Linked DNA regions of Homo sapiens: all the other regions are linked to region 1. The links are contacts of gene promoters, found by promoter capture Hi-C in human tissues and cell types (Jung and others, 2019). All regions are on one chromosome and are shown on one strand. The core of a region is centred on a gene start or on the middle of the fragment in contact, and the rest is flanking DNA. Distances in the headings are between cores, read along the strand shown. Region 1 holds the start of SNRPD1 (small nuclear ribonucleoprotein D1 polypeptide). Region 2 has its middle 170 kb from the start of ROCK1. Region 3 overlaps ROCK1 (Rho associated coiled-coil containing protein kinase 1). Region 4 overlaps ROCK1 (Rho associated coiled-coil containing protein kinase 1). Region 5 overlaps GATA6 (GATA binding protein 6).

Region 1 (2,733 bases), core at 119-2,618:
GAGGCAGGAGAATAGCGTGAACCCGGAAGGCGGAGCTTGCAGTGAGCCGAGATCGCGCCACTGCACTACAGCCTGGGCGACAGAGGGAGACTCTGTCTCAAAATACATACATACGTACGTACATACATACATACATAAAAAGACGATAATTAGCGGGCCATGGTGATGCGCGCCTGTAATCTCAGTTACTGGAGAGGCTGAGGCACGAGAATGGCTTGAAACCGGGAGGCAAGGGTTGCAGTGAGCTGAGATCGCGCTACTGCACTCCGGCCTGGGCGACAGAGTGAGACTCCATCTCAAAAAAATAAAAAATATATATATTTTGATGAGATGTTGAGAAAGATGAAGACTGAAAAGTTTGTCTTATAGATTGGAACTTAAAGTGAAAATAATCTGCTACATTGTGGATTTTATTTTTATTATTATTATTTTTTGAGACGGAGTCTCGCTCTGTTGCCAGGCTGGAGTGCAGTGGCACGATCTCAGCTCACTGCAACCTCCACCTCCTGGGTTCAAGCGATTCTCCTGCCTCAGCCTCCCGAATAGCTGGGACTACAGGCGCGCATCACCACGCCCCGCTAATTTTTGTATTTTTAGTAGAGGCGGGGTTTCACCATGTTGGCCAGAATGGTCTCGATCTCTTGACCTCGCTATCTGCCCGCCTCGGCCTCCCAAAGTGCTGGAATTACAGGCTTGAGCCACAGCGCCTGGCCCATTGTGTGATTTGCTTCAGGTACAGTAAGCAATGCTAGGTTCCTGGTGTTGGAACAGAATCAGCATAAGACTTTGGGCTTCTCTAAGACCTTCTTTCCGTTCAGTGAGGAATTTGTATTAGGTGCTGCACTCACAGTGCCCTGCTGTTCAGAAACGTGATGGTGACAGTACTTTTTTTTTTTTTTTTTTTTTTTGGGAGACGGAGTTTCGTTCTTGTTGCCCAGGCAGGAGTGTAGTGGTGCGATCTCCGCTCACTGCAGCCTCCGCCTCCCGGGTTCAAGCGATTCCCCTGCCTCAGCCTTCCGAGTAGCTGGGATTACATGCGCCCGCCACCACGCCCAGCTAATTTTTTGTCTTTTTAGTAGAGACGGGGGTTTCACCCTGTTGGCCAGGCTGGTCTTGAACTCCTGACCTCAGGTGATACCCCCGCTTCGGCCTCCCAAAATGCGACAGTCCTATTAATTGGATTTAATCTCTTCGAATCTCCCTCTCTTGTAGGACATTTTTCTCCAAGACCAGCCCTCGATACCCTCAGCCGTCGCAAGGCAACCTCCAGCCGCCAGGGGCCGCAGTCGCGCTCCTCGCGGCCGGAAGAGAGTGCGGCCCAGCGCAGCCTCGGCGTTTCCGCCATGCGCCTGCAGTGCTCCGCGCGCTCTTGACGTCCGGAGCCCCTGGAGTAGGCGCTTCCGGCCATTCATACTGCAGTCGGTCAGTGTTCGGTTGAAGGATTCTGTGTGCTGTCGGACCCAGAGGGTGACGGCGCCGCTAGGATGAAGCTCGTGAGGTGAGGGAGTGACCAAGCAGCTCTGGGGGCTGTGAAGGGAGGGCTTGGCCCGGAGTCCGGAAGGCTGGGCTCTCCCATTTGCAGGAGGCGGGAAAGCCGCGTGTGCGCGGCCTGCTAACGGCCGGCCTTACTGCGCCCGCAGCTCGTGCTCGGGCCTGGGCTTCCGCCTGGGTCGCTCGCGGATCCCGCGTGTCTTCCAAGAGATTGGTATAAAGGCCGAGCCTTTTCTTCCTGCCTAGTGACTTAGAGGCTTTAAAGATGCAGCGCCTCCTGGGACACATCTCCCTCTTACAGTTACTCATTTTCTTTTTGAGTGGAACTCCCCAGTCCTGCTTAACAGTACTTAGAAAGCTGTATGAGCTTATCTGGAAACAAACCTGTTTGCAAAATATTTTAAATCAGAGAAGGACTTCCGGCTTCACAAGTTTTTGTTTTTTTAAATAAAGATGGTGTCTCACTTTGTTGACCAGGCTGGTCTCGAACTCCTGGGCTCAAGCTTTCTGCCCGCCTCGCCCTTCCAAAGGGCTGAGATTACAGGTTTGAGCCACCGTGCCCGGCCGATTTTTAAGTTTACCTTTTTATCCTCCTTAGATTTGTGATTGATTATTCCACCTCTATTTCCCTTTAAGGTAGGCTTTTTATTTAGGAAAATCTCCCAATATAGGGCAGAAATTATCACAACGTAATTGTGGCTGATTACTCAGATAATATATAGTTCTCCTGTTTTATTTCTTAAGAAATAAATAGACCCTGTCAGTTAGGTGAGTCTTCTGAAAACTTGTTTGCTGATGTGAATAATTCTAAACTACCTGCAAGTAGATTTGGTTTTGGTGTTTTTCCTTGAGACTAAGCCTGGAACAGAGGCAGACGTTTCTAATAGCTAAGCCAGCAATTATAAATATTTAGCTTGTTTTTTTCCTGTTGAGTCAAGGATTGTCAATATCCGCTAAATAGTTATTGGGCACCTGTTACATACTAGGCGCTGGTAATAGGATTTTTTAAAAGGCAGAGTACCTGCCTTGTTGGAGTTTTCTGGTTAGTGGGGATGACAGACAAGTAGATAACGTCTGAAGTAACGTTTGTTTGAAACGTTTTAAATAACACATAAAAGCCTTCAACACTCAGGGAGGAGGCCAGGCGCAGTGGCTCACGTCTGTAATCCCAGCACTTTGGGAGGCCAAGGCGGGTGGATCACTAGGTCAGGAGTTCGAGACCAGCCTGACCAACATGGTGAA
Region 2 (2,733 bases), core at 107-2,606, 670 kb before region 1:
AAGGTTCAACTCTGTTAGTTGAGTACACACATCACAAACAAGTTTCTGAGAATGCTTCTGTCTCGTTTTTATGGGAAGATATTTCCTTTTTCACCAAAGTCGTCAAAGCGCTCCAAATGTCCACTTCCAGATACTACAAAAAGAATGTTTCAAACCTGCTCCATGAAAGGGAATGTTCAACTCTGTGACTTGAATGCCGATATCACAAAGTAGTTTCTGAGAGTGCTTCTGTCTAGATTTTATATGAAGATATTCTCATTTCCAATGAAATCGTTAGAGCTATCCAAATATCCACTTGCAGATTCTACAAAAAGAGTGTTTCCAAACTGCTGTATCAAAAGAAAGGTTGAACTTTGTTAGTTGAGGACACACATTACAAAGAAGTTTCTGAGAATGCTTCTGTCTAGATTTTATATGAAGATTTTCCCGTTTCCAATGAAATCCTTAAAGCTATCCCAATATCCACCTGTAGATTCTACAAAAAGAGTGTTTCAAAACTGCTCTGTAAAAAGAATGGTTCAACTCTGTTAGTTGAGGACACACATCACAAACAAGTTTCTGAGAATGCTTCTGTCTAGTTTTTGTGGGAAGATATTTCCTTTTTCACTGTAGGCATCAAAGCGCTCCAAATGTCCACATTCAGATACTACAAAAAGAGTGTTTCAAACCTGCTCGATGAAAGGGAATGTTCAACTCTGTGACTTGAATGCAGACATCACAAAGCAGTTTCTGAGAATGTTTCTGTCTAGATTTTATATGAAGATACTCCCGTTTCCAATGAAATCCACAAAGCTATCCAAATATCCACTTGCAGATTCTACAGAAAGCGTGTTTCCAAACTGCTCTGTCAAACGAAATGTTCAACTCCGTTAGTTGAGGACACACATCAGAAACAAGTTTCTGCGAATGCTTCTGTGTAGTTTTTATGGGAAGATATTTCCTTTTCCACCATAGGCCTGAAAGCGCTCGAAATGTCCACTTCCAGATACTACAGAAAGAGTGTTTCAAACCTGCTCTATGAAAGGGAATGTTTTATATTTGTATGTATCATATGCCAATTGTTACCTTTTTTGGCAGCACTGAAAATTCAGGTGATCTTAAACATCAGACAGATAACACAAATAAGTGGTCCAGGTAAGGACTGTGTGAAATAGAAAACATATCCTCTCTCAGAAAACAGTGAGAGGATATTGCTGATGTGCAGGCCTCTGGCCCTTTGTTGAGAAACAGTTATTGGAAATCAGATTTGTATTTGAAGTATTCCAGTTTTTAAATTAGCAACTATTTTCTTGCAACCCCAGCACTTTTGGAGGCCAAGATGGGCAGATTGCTTGAGCTCAGTAGTTCAAGACCAGCCTGGGCAACATGGCAAGACCCCATCTCTACCAAAAATACAAAAAATTAGCTGGGCATGGTGGCATGTGCTTGTGGTCCCAGCTACTAGGGAGACTGAGGTGGGAGGATCACTTGAGCCCAGGAGGCAGAGCTTGCAATGAACCGAGATTGCACCACTGCACTCCAGCCTGGGCAAGAGAGTGAGACCCCATCTGATGTGATTTGGCTGTGTCCCCACCCAAATCTCGTATTGAATTCCCACATGTGTGGGAGGGACCTGGTGGGAGGTAGTTGAATCATGGGGGCAGGTCTTTCCTGTGCTGTTCTCATGGTGGTGAATGACTCTCATGGGATCTGATGATTATAGAAGGGGGAGTTTCCCTGCACAAGCTCTTTTATCTTGTCTGCCACCATGTGAGACATGCCTTTCACCCTCCACCACGATTGGGAAGCCTCCTCAGCCACGTGGAACTGTAAGTCCATTAAATGTCTTTCTTTTGTAAATTGCCCAGTCTCAGGTATGTCTTTATCAGCAGTGTGAAAATGGACTAATACAGTAAATTGGTACCAGAAGTGGGGTGTTGCTGAGAAGATACCGGAAAATGTGGAAGCAACTTTGGAACTGGGTAACAGGCAGAGGTTGAAACCGTTTGGAGGGCTCAGCAGAAGACAGGAAAATGTGGGAAAGTTTGGAACTTCCTAGAGATTTGTTGAATGGCTTTGTCCAAAATGCTGATAGCGATATGGACAATAAGGTCCAGGCTGAGGTGGACTCAGATGGAGATGAGGAACTTGTTGGGAACAGGAGCAAAGGTGACTCTTGTTATGTTTTAGCAAAGAGACTGGCAACATTTCGCCCCTGCCTTAGAGATTTATGTAAGTTTGAACTTCAGAGAGATGATTTAGGGTATCTGGTGGAAGAAATGTCTAAGCAGCAAAGCATTCAAGGGGTGACATGGGTGCTGTTAAAGGCATTCAGTTTTATAAGGGAAGTAGAGCATAAAAGTTCAGAAAATTTGCAACCTGACAATGTGATAGAAAAGAAAAACTCATTTTCTGAGGAGAAATTGAAGCTGGCTGCAGAAATTTGCATAAGTAAGATGTTAATCCCCAAGACAATGGGAAAAATGTCTCCAGGGTATGTCAGAGGCCTTCACGGCAGCCCCTCCCATCACAGACCCAGAGGCCTAGGATAAAATGGTTTTGTGGGCCAGGCAGGGTCCACATGCTGTGTGCAATCTAAAGACTTGGTGCTCTGCATCCCAGCCACTCCAGCCGTCACTAAAAGGGGCTAAGAGACAGCTTGGGCTGTTGCTTCAGAGAGTGGAAAACCCAAGCCTTGGCAGGTTCCATGTGGTGTTGAGCCTGTAGGTGCAGAGAAGTCAAGAACTGAGGTTT
Region 3 (2,733 bases), core at 77-2,576, 640 kb before region 1:
TCAGTAACTTCATTAAGATAATTCTTAAGGCTACAGAAGTTACTTAATATATGAAAACAGGTATCTTAGAAACCTAACACAACATAGGTAAAGATAAATCACTGAATTTGATTTAACATGATGATTTTTTAAAAATTCTACATACCTTCCTCTGCCTTCTTCATTTTCTCTGTTAGCTCTTCATTCTCTCTTCTTAATATTTCAATATCTTTGGTTAGCATGCTGTTTGCTTCTTCAAGCTAAACAAAGCACACAAAAGTTTAAGCTCCAGCCTCTTTGCTATTCTCGTATTTCAGGCAGTAACCTTTAAATATACTGCTAGATAAAGACAGGTCAGACACTGCTGAACTACAGCAAATGTCTGGTTTCCAGCTTAAAATATGTAATTACATCAAAAATATTTAAAAGTAGTTAACAGCATCCAAAAATTATTTCATTGTATGCATATAGATATATGTATGAACAAAAGGGGGGCATATGTAATGGCAAGATAACTAGATTGCAAACTAAGAAATTTGTATTTAGTTCTAGCTCTGCGATTAACCTAGTATGTGACCCCGAGCAAGTCATACTTTTTCTGGACTTCAATATCTTTATCTGAATATTGATGATGAAAACGATAATAAAAACATTTATTTATAGATTACTTTTAGTAATATATAATCATTACTTGTTATATGTTATATTAATCATTCTATGTCTACTGTCTTATTTAATCCTCATAACAATCATGTGGAAGAGATATTACTATTTCTATTTTATAGATGAGAAATCTGAGGCTTAGAGAAGTTAAAGCCAACTTTGCCAAGACCATATAACTTCTTAGGGGCAAAACTGGAACCCAGAGTGACTGATAGTGGCTTTACAAGAAAAATCTAACTCCTCTTTTTAGTCGCATGATTCTATATAGATTACAGTATAAACCTCAGGAATAGGTAATTGTTTGGAGTATTGGTTTTCTTATAATGGATTTATATATTATCCCAAGAATTCCTCATTCCCAAATGGTTTCTCTATATTTCACAGAATTCTGGCCCATAAAATCAGTTGCAATGTATTAAGAGAACAACAAATGAATTTAAGCTAAGCCATTACTTCATATGAAATATAACTAATAAGATCTACAGCCAGAAAAACAGCCCAATATTGCATTGGTTCTGTGCCTATACAAACAAAAGCCCAATATCTTGAACAAGAATTTCAATAATTAACAAATGTTTGGTATTATACAAACTATTTTATACATGAGTACAGAATGACCACTATGTATTAACATAGAAGTAAATACACTTGCACACACACTTACCCTAATATTTTAAGATGTGACCTATTGTGATTTAAATAAATTTTATATAACTTACCTGACTATCACACTTACCCGACTAACAGTGTGATCTTTATCTGTAATCTCTTGTCTATTTCTTGAAGCAGCTTTCTTGCTTTCTTGCGTCAATTCAAAATACTGTTCTTCCAGAAGGCCTCGCGCCAACTGCTCAGACTCAGCTTTTGTTTCTGCTAGATCCAACTGAGTAGCAAGAGTTTCTCTGCAACAATTTTTTAAGAGAAACTGATGTAAACAAATTCAGTTCATCCTTCCAACTTAATCATATTCTTAAAAACACAATTAACTTTAAATGATAAAAAGAATTATTTTATTGCTTAAAATAAATTTAAATCCATTGCAAACTTTCTATAAAAGTAATGAATTTAACCTCTCACATGTTGAAAAATTATAAAAGAACTATTTAGTTTTCTATCCCATATTGTGCTTAACTAAAAAAGGTCATAAAGCAATAGCAAATAGTCTGCTTTTGAAAAGAAATTTCTTGCAGATTTGGAATGGAAGGCAGCGTGGCATAGTGGAAAAGTCATTGACTTGTTAATCAGCAGGCTAGACCCAGAACTTTATCTCTGTTTTATCATTAACTAATTGAGTAGAGACACTGGGCAAGTCCCTTACACTTCCTGCAGTTCAGTTTCATCAAATCTGTAAAATGAGATGGTTAAACTAGTCCCTTCCAGCTCTGAAATTAAATGAGATTATGAAAACTTATAAGAGATTTGCAAATCACTACAAACTAATCTGAGAATGCTCCCTGGAAATGATACTAAAACATTTCAGAACTGACATTCAGACCAAGACAACTCCAGTTTGCCTACTCTTCTCAAAGAGCCTCTCTTGGATAAGCTCTCTTAGTCACTACTGTATTCCCTGAACAGAGTAGGTGCTCAATAAATATGTTCTGAATGAGTAACTTCCACCTCCTATTTTCTAGTGAGTATTACAATTCAAATTTTCTGCCTGAAGCCTCAAGAGGGAGACATATAGTAAACATACACACACACACACACACACACACACACACACACACACATACACACAGAAAATTCATTAATTCACCCAACAGCTATTTACTTGAAGGTTTACTAAGTACTACACTATGTTTACTATGCATCACGCTGTTCTAGGAATTAAGAGATACAGCAGGCCGGAAGCAGTGGCTCACCCCCATAATCCCAGCCCTTTGGGAGGCTGAGGCGGGCAGATCATGAGGTCAGGAGTTGGAGACCAGTCTGCCAACGTAGTGGAACCCCATCTCTACTAAAAATACAAAAAATTAGCCAGGTGTGGTGGTGTGTGCCTGTAATCCCGGCTACTTGGGAGGCTGAGGTGACAGTGCAAGACTCCGTCTCAAAAATAAATAAATAAATAAATAAATAAATAAATAAATA
Region 4 (2,733 bases), core at 60-2,559, 590 kb before region 1:
AATGAGGAGTTACTGTTTAATTGGTATAGATTTTTAGTTTGGGATGATGAAAAGGTTCTAGAGATGGATGGCAGTGATGGCTGCACAACTATGTGAAGGTGCTTAATGCCACCGAACTGCACACTTAAAAATGATTAAAACGGTAAATTTCATGTTACGTATATTTGCCATACACACAAAACTCTCTGTTTAAATATTTTGAACATGTAATCTGTTTGCCTGTCAAGACCCTTAATGATACATTGATATATCATAGTTCCTGATTCCGAAGATTAAAAAAGATGACCACTGTCAATCTGTGTAACAATTTAGTTTACTAACTGCCTCCAAATATATTATTCCATTTGATATTTGAGCAAAAAATCAGACTGAAAAGGAGATGGGAGATGAAAGTGCCATAAAAATCTAAGTTCAGCTAACCACAGCTTCACAAACAATATATAAATTTACTATCATACCCACAAATATATTATCCACAAAACAATTTTAAAAACAATTTTCTTAATACTAAGAAAATACCTACCAAGCTTTTATCTGCATTGGAGCTAGTTCTGTTATCATTAGGATTTGCTGAAGATAAGTATCTGAGGGAAAGAAAAGTTTAAAAAGAAAAGAAAACAAAAAACTCTGTAATATCCCATGACAACCAATAATAAATACTACACGCCTATTTTATGTTCAGTTATAGTAACTTTGTTTTTAAAAATTAAGTATAGGTTCATAATTTTTATAAACATAATTCAGAAATGATACATATATTAAATAAAACACCCAGTTAGGTCTAAAAATAGTAGCAGCCTGTAAACATATGACTTAATATTCCTGCAGCAAAACATAAGAATATTCATACCAAGTAGGATAAATAAAAACCATAGTCTCAAGTTAGTTCAGATTAGGCTTTCTGGTCATGAGAGCAGGTTATGACAGGTTTTTCCACCAAACAAATAACTTAAAAACATTCAGTTTTCAGAGCTTTTTGTATATAAGAATTGGGGGTAAGAAACTGCTGACTTCTGCAGACATATGCATAACCACCTCTCCTGCACCCAACTATCCTTCAGCAAAGCATAATATTGCCTCTTCGGGTCAAAAAAGTTTTTGCCTATGTGGGTGAAATAACAGAACCAAAGTTTAGGTGATGCTGCTAATCTTTTGGGACTCCCAGCCTTGCAGAGTTCTTTAAATTCAGTGTAAAGTTAGAATTGTATATAAATAAAGCTATTAGTGAACTAATTTAGAGGTCTTTTTTAGATGTCTCACAAGATTCTCAAACAATCTAAATAGATCATATATGTAAACAATTTTTTAAGCTACCAAATATTATATAAAGGTAAGGTACTAGTACTGCCAGTGTTGCTCCTACTGCCACCATGCTACGACTACCATAATCACTACTTCTACCATCACCACCACTACAGTCAGCACCCTGATTAACCAGTAGAGCTATTGCAAAAGGAGATCAAATAGTTACAGTATACTTCATAGCTATTGGAGGCATGTGTTAACACACCAGATATTAATAATGTTCCAAAAGAACAGTTTAAGTAAATTTTAAAAATTAGTGAATAACAGAAGATAATCAAGTATCCATTAAGTATCAATAAACATACACAGTACAATGGTACTATAAAAGAAACAGCTAGAAATATGCCACTTCCTAGGTTTTCCTTGAAAAATTATTCAGATCAAATGGAGATTCAAATAACTTTAAGACAATAATAGGGGCTGTGTAGCAGCTTTATAGAGGAAAAGTCCCATATAACAAATGACAAATTCTAGGTGTGGTGCAATTTAATTCCATTGACTACTAAGCATCTCAGAAATTCAATGTGAGATTCTGCTTATGTAATATAAATAAGGCATATAGCAATGCCAGTGGCATCTAAATTAGATGAGACTGTTTCATCTCTAAGATATTTTCTAAACTTAACATGCTATGTGACTGAGACTGACATTTTAGTCTTCTGCAAAATTAGTAATATAAGCTTGAATGCAGCAAAGGAAATGTAAGGACATCACTTGTATACATCCATTAATTCTTCCACCTTCTGTCTTTTCTCTATCAAGGTACATTTGCATATTATATTGGTGCTTTTACATAGAATCTGGTCATTTAGGTAACTTTTTACAAAACGGGAGTTACTATATTAGGAATATAGCTTAAGGCTATTTTAAAAATCATGTTTAATTCAGCTATAATTAAGCAACAATGATTTCTGCCCTTGGTATTAAAAGTATATCTGGATTTCAGGGATAAGAATTTCAGAGGTTTTCTATTTCATATCTGTATATTCAAAATTATGCTTACATATTACAATAAAGCTAATCAATATTTTGCCAGGGCCAGGTGCAGTGGCTCACACCTGTAATCCGCTGGGATTACTTTGGGAGGCCAAGGTGGGTGGATCACTTGAGGCCAGGGGTTTGAGACCAGCCTGGCCAACAGCCTGGCCAACATGGCAAAACCCCATCTCTAATAAAAATACAAAGATTAGCCAGGCATGGTGGTACGCACCTGTAATCCCAGCTACTCAGAGGCTGAGGCACAAGAATCACTTGAACCCAGGAGGCAGAGATTGCAGTGAGCCAAGATCACACCACCGCACTCCAGCCTCAGCGACAGAGTGAGACTCTTGTTTCAAAAATATATATATATTTTGTTGGTTCTTTCTTTATGAACAGCAACCGTACCTTTGCCTGTTCAGGTAGTAAGTGATTACTTAAAAAATACTA
Region 5 (2,733 bases), core at 144-2,643, 560 kb after region 1:
TTTAAAACTTAATAAGAAATGAGAAAAGAGACTTGTTTTGTAAATAGTATTAATGGAATTAAAGTTTTTATGCTAAAGTCATATTTAAATATCGTTACCACACAGTTGATAGTAGACACAAGCAATAAACTGCAAGGGGATGAGAAAGAACCAAAAGGTTCACCAGCACATAATCTTAAGCTAAAACTCTGAAGTGTAATGTTTATTTACTTTAAAAAGTGATTCAGGAATGCTTCTTCAATAATGCAGAACTAGGACATTTAAACCTTCTATAATCTAAAGAACCTTAAATGGCGGTCTATACTTTTTTTTGGTCTATACTTACAATAAGTACCTTTCTCATTTTTAGAGACATTTATTCTTCCATATTTAACCTTCTTGAGAAGTAATAAATGTTACATTTACTCTTAATTAGGATTTGTTTTTATTAGCAGGTTTAGGTTATTGTGAATTCTGAAAACTAACCAAAGAATAATAATAATAAAATTATGTAAAATAAACACATTTTAAATCGATTGCTAACTCAAAATGATCACTGGGAAGGTCTTGGTAATTTTCTCAATCAGTAAGGTATCAACCTTTTATAAAAATTTTGCAGATAGAAGCAGTTGGACCCACTTCTAAATCGGGATTTTAGCATTTGATCTTTGTGGCATGAAAATAAAACTCTGTGCTTAACGTTAGTGCATTTTTCCCCTGAAAAGATGAGAGTAATCTTCTCATTTCTAGTTTCTAACTAACGTAGGTGCCTAAGAATAGTACTTTTAATTTCACTTGTGTATCTTTAATTGGAGAAGAGGCACATATGGACGGGTGGCAGATGTAGAAAATACTTTTTAAAATTACTTGAGATAAAAGTTAATGAGGCAGCCTCGCTGTGTCCCCGGATATTTGTGGGTTGCAGCGGGGCTCAGTGGTCAGTATTTCTGTGTGGCTTGCTCGGGTTTGGCAACGACGTACTGTAATGATGATGGATTTCAGTCTTTAAAAGCTCCGGGACAGCCTGAGAGTAGGGGTCAGGGGACTCAAGCCGACCTCCCCACCGCTCATCTCGGACTCTGACGTCCTCTGCTTCCAGCACTGTCTCTTTCCCGGAGTCTCTACTGGGGCGCTCCGGGTGTGCAGAAGTATTGGACAAATGGTCAGTGGAGCAATAGTGACGAAATAACCCTGCTCCTGGCTTTGCGGCCAAGGAGAAAAGCTCAGCCGGGAAGGGCACGGGCAGGGAAGCCGGGCACCGGGGCTGGGGGCCGGGGTCCCCGGGGTGACGCGGGGAGGGACGGGTCCGGCGCGCCCACTCCCGCCCTCACGCACCGCTGTCGCCGCAGACCTGCTGGAGGACCTGTCCGAGAGCCGCGAGTGCGTGAACTGCGGCTCCATCCAGACGCCGCTGTGGCGGCGGGACGGCACCGGCCACTACCTGTGCAACGCCTGCGGGCTCTACAGCAAGATGAACGGCCTCAGCCGGCCCCTCATCAAGCCGCAGAAGCGCGTGGTGAGTGTGACCCGCCCTGCCCCTGGCTCGCGGCCGGCCCCGGGCTCTCCTGGCCCGGCCGGCCCCGCCCTGGCTCGGCCTGCCTTGGGCGTCCCCCTCCCAGGGGACAGGTGCGGCCGCTGCGGTCCCACCCTAGCGGGGACCCAGCGGTACCATCCTGTCCCGGCTGTTCCAACGCCCACCCGCTGGCGCCCAAGTAGAAGTTACCCCGAAACTGGCCTCTGGGAAGCCAAGATAGCCTTTCCCCATGTTTACGCGCAGGGGATGACGTCCGTAAATGACAAAAACAAAAACAAACAAAAAAGGAAGGTGCAAAATGTTACCATGTTTTAAGCAAAAAAAGAAAAAATAATCTATATATCTCTAGGTGTACTTGCCAAAGCACCGTAATAATTCTGGTAAGATAGGCAAGAAATTGGTGATGGTAACCCGAGGAGAAAAACAGTAGACCTACCGAGGCCGGGCGAAGGAAGACTTTTTTCACTGTGTATGGTTTAGATTTTATGCTTGAAAAACCATGCTCACTTATACCATTCGTCCCCCAAATAGAATATGCCAGAAATCCACCCACTCACGCCTCCTCACAGCCACATTCTTTTGGGTGCCGTTTACTTTGTCCTTTCCACCTTCTTGGTCACTTCTACCTCTTATCCTCAGGTGTATCCCCAAATACCATATCTTGGATTGCCCTTGAGCCTGGTGAAAATTTATTTGCTCTAACTTTTGTTATTTCAAAATCAGAGAACTTTGTAGAACTTGAGTAAAAGTGTGGTTTGTATGTTCTTAAGTTGAGCATTTTCCCCAATTCGCACACGTTTTACTGTTTTTTTGTTTTTTTTTTTTTTTTTTTTTTTTTTGAGACGGAGTTTCACTCTTGTTGCCCAGGCTGGAGTGCAATGGCGCGATCTCGGCTCACCGCAGCCTCCGCCTCCAGGGTTCAAGCGATTCTCCTGCCTCAGCCTCCCGAGTAGCTGGGATTACAGGCATGTGCCACCACGCCCGGCTCATTTTTTTGTATTTTTAGTAGAGACAGGGTTTCTCCATGTAGGTCAGGCTGGTCTCGAACTCCCGATCTCATGTGATCCCGCCCGCCTCGGCCTCCCGAAGTGCTAGGATTACAGGCGTGAGCCACCGCGCCCGGCCACCATGTTTTAAAGTAAGGGAATCCTGATTTCAGGGATTAATCTCGTATTGTCATTGTTATGTGTGCTTCCTAGCCGGAGAGAGTATTTACCGCT

Evidence for each region. The method cuts DNA at HindIII sites, captures the fragments that hold promoters and counts their contacts. A contact is called where the count stands out against the background at its distance.
Region 2: a contact is called between a fragment that was not itself captured here and the fragment with the promoter of SNRPD1 in region 1, in 5 of the 25 tissues and cell types used here (H1 embryonic stem cells, dorsolateral prefrontal cortex, liver and 2 more).
Region 3: a contact is called between a fragment that was not itself captured here and the fragment with the promoter of SNRPD1 in region 1, in 2 of the 25 tissues and cell types used here (aorta and hippocampus).
Region 4: a fragment that was not itself captured here is called in contact with the fragment with the promoter of SNRPD1 in region 1 in 2 of the 25 tissues and cell types used here (heart left ventricle and lymphoblastoid cells).
Region 5: a fragment that was not itself captured here is called in contact with the fragment with the promoter of SNRPD1 in region 1 in 1 of the 25 tissues and cell types used here (dorsolateral prefrontal cortex).

Annotation. Positions count from the first base shown.
Region 1 is chr18:21,610,946-21,613,678 of GRCh38, forward strand. It overlaps SNRPD1 (small nuclear ribonucleoprotein D1 polypeptide), which reads left to right and starts at 1,369. Exons shown (of 4, transcript NM_006938.4): 1 at 1,369-1,498. The coding sequence starts at 1,485. RefSeq lists a silencer at 1,118-1,167 and an enhancer at 1,428-1,517. The HindIII fragment of the contact is 13,798 bases long and covers 1-2,733 here.
Region 2 is chr18:20,939,350-20,942,082 of GRCh38, forward strand. No RefSeq gene overlaps it. Among named protein-coding and RNA genes, the nearest start is that of ROCK1, 170 kb to the right of the region's middle. RefSeq lists enhancers at 1-444, 445-1,050. The HindIII fragment of the contact is 5,118 bases long and covers 1-2,733 here.
Region 3 is chr18:20,968,970-20,971,702 of GRCh38, forward strand. ROCK1 (Rho associated coiled-coil containing protein kinase 1) reads right to left here. Exons shown (of 33, transcript NM_005406.3): 23 at 1,379-1,544; 24 at 146-239. Among named protein-coding and RNA genes, the nearest start is that of ROCK1, 140 kb to the right of the region's middle. The HindIII fragment of the contact is 6,469 bases long and covers 1-2,733 here.
Region 4 is chr18:21,023,097-21,025,829 of GRCh38, forward strand. ROCK1 (Rho associated coiled-coil containing protein kinase 1) reads right to left here. Exons shown (of 33, transcript NM_005406.3): 11 at 524-584. Among named protein-coding and RNA genes, the nearest start is that of ROCK1, 87 kb to the right of the region's middle. The HindIII fragment of the contact is 5,100 bases long and covers 1-2,733 here.
Region 5 is chr18:22,175,627-22,178,359 of GRCh38, forward strand. It overlaps GATA6 (GATA binding protein 6), which reads left to right. Exons shown (of 7, transcript NM_005257.6): 3 at 1,329-1,495. Among named protein-coding and RNA genes, the nearest start is that of GATA6, 7.4 kb to the left of the region's middle. RefSeq lists an enhancer at 2,676-2,733. The HindIII fragment of the contact is 4,632 bases long and covers 1-2,733 here.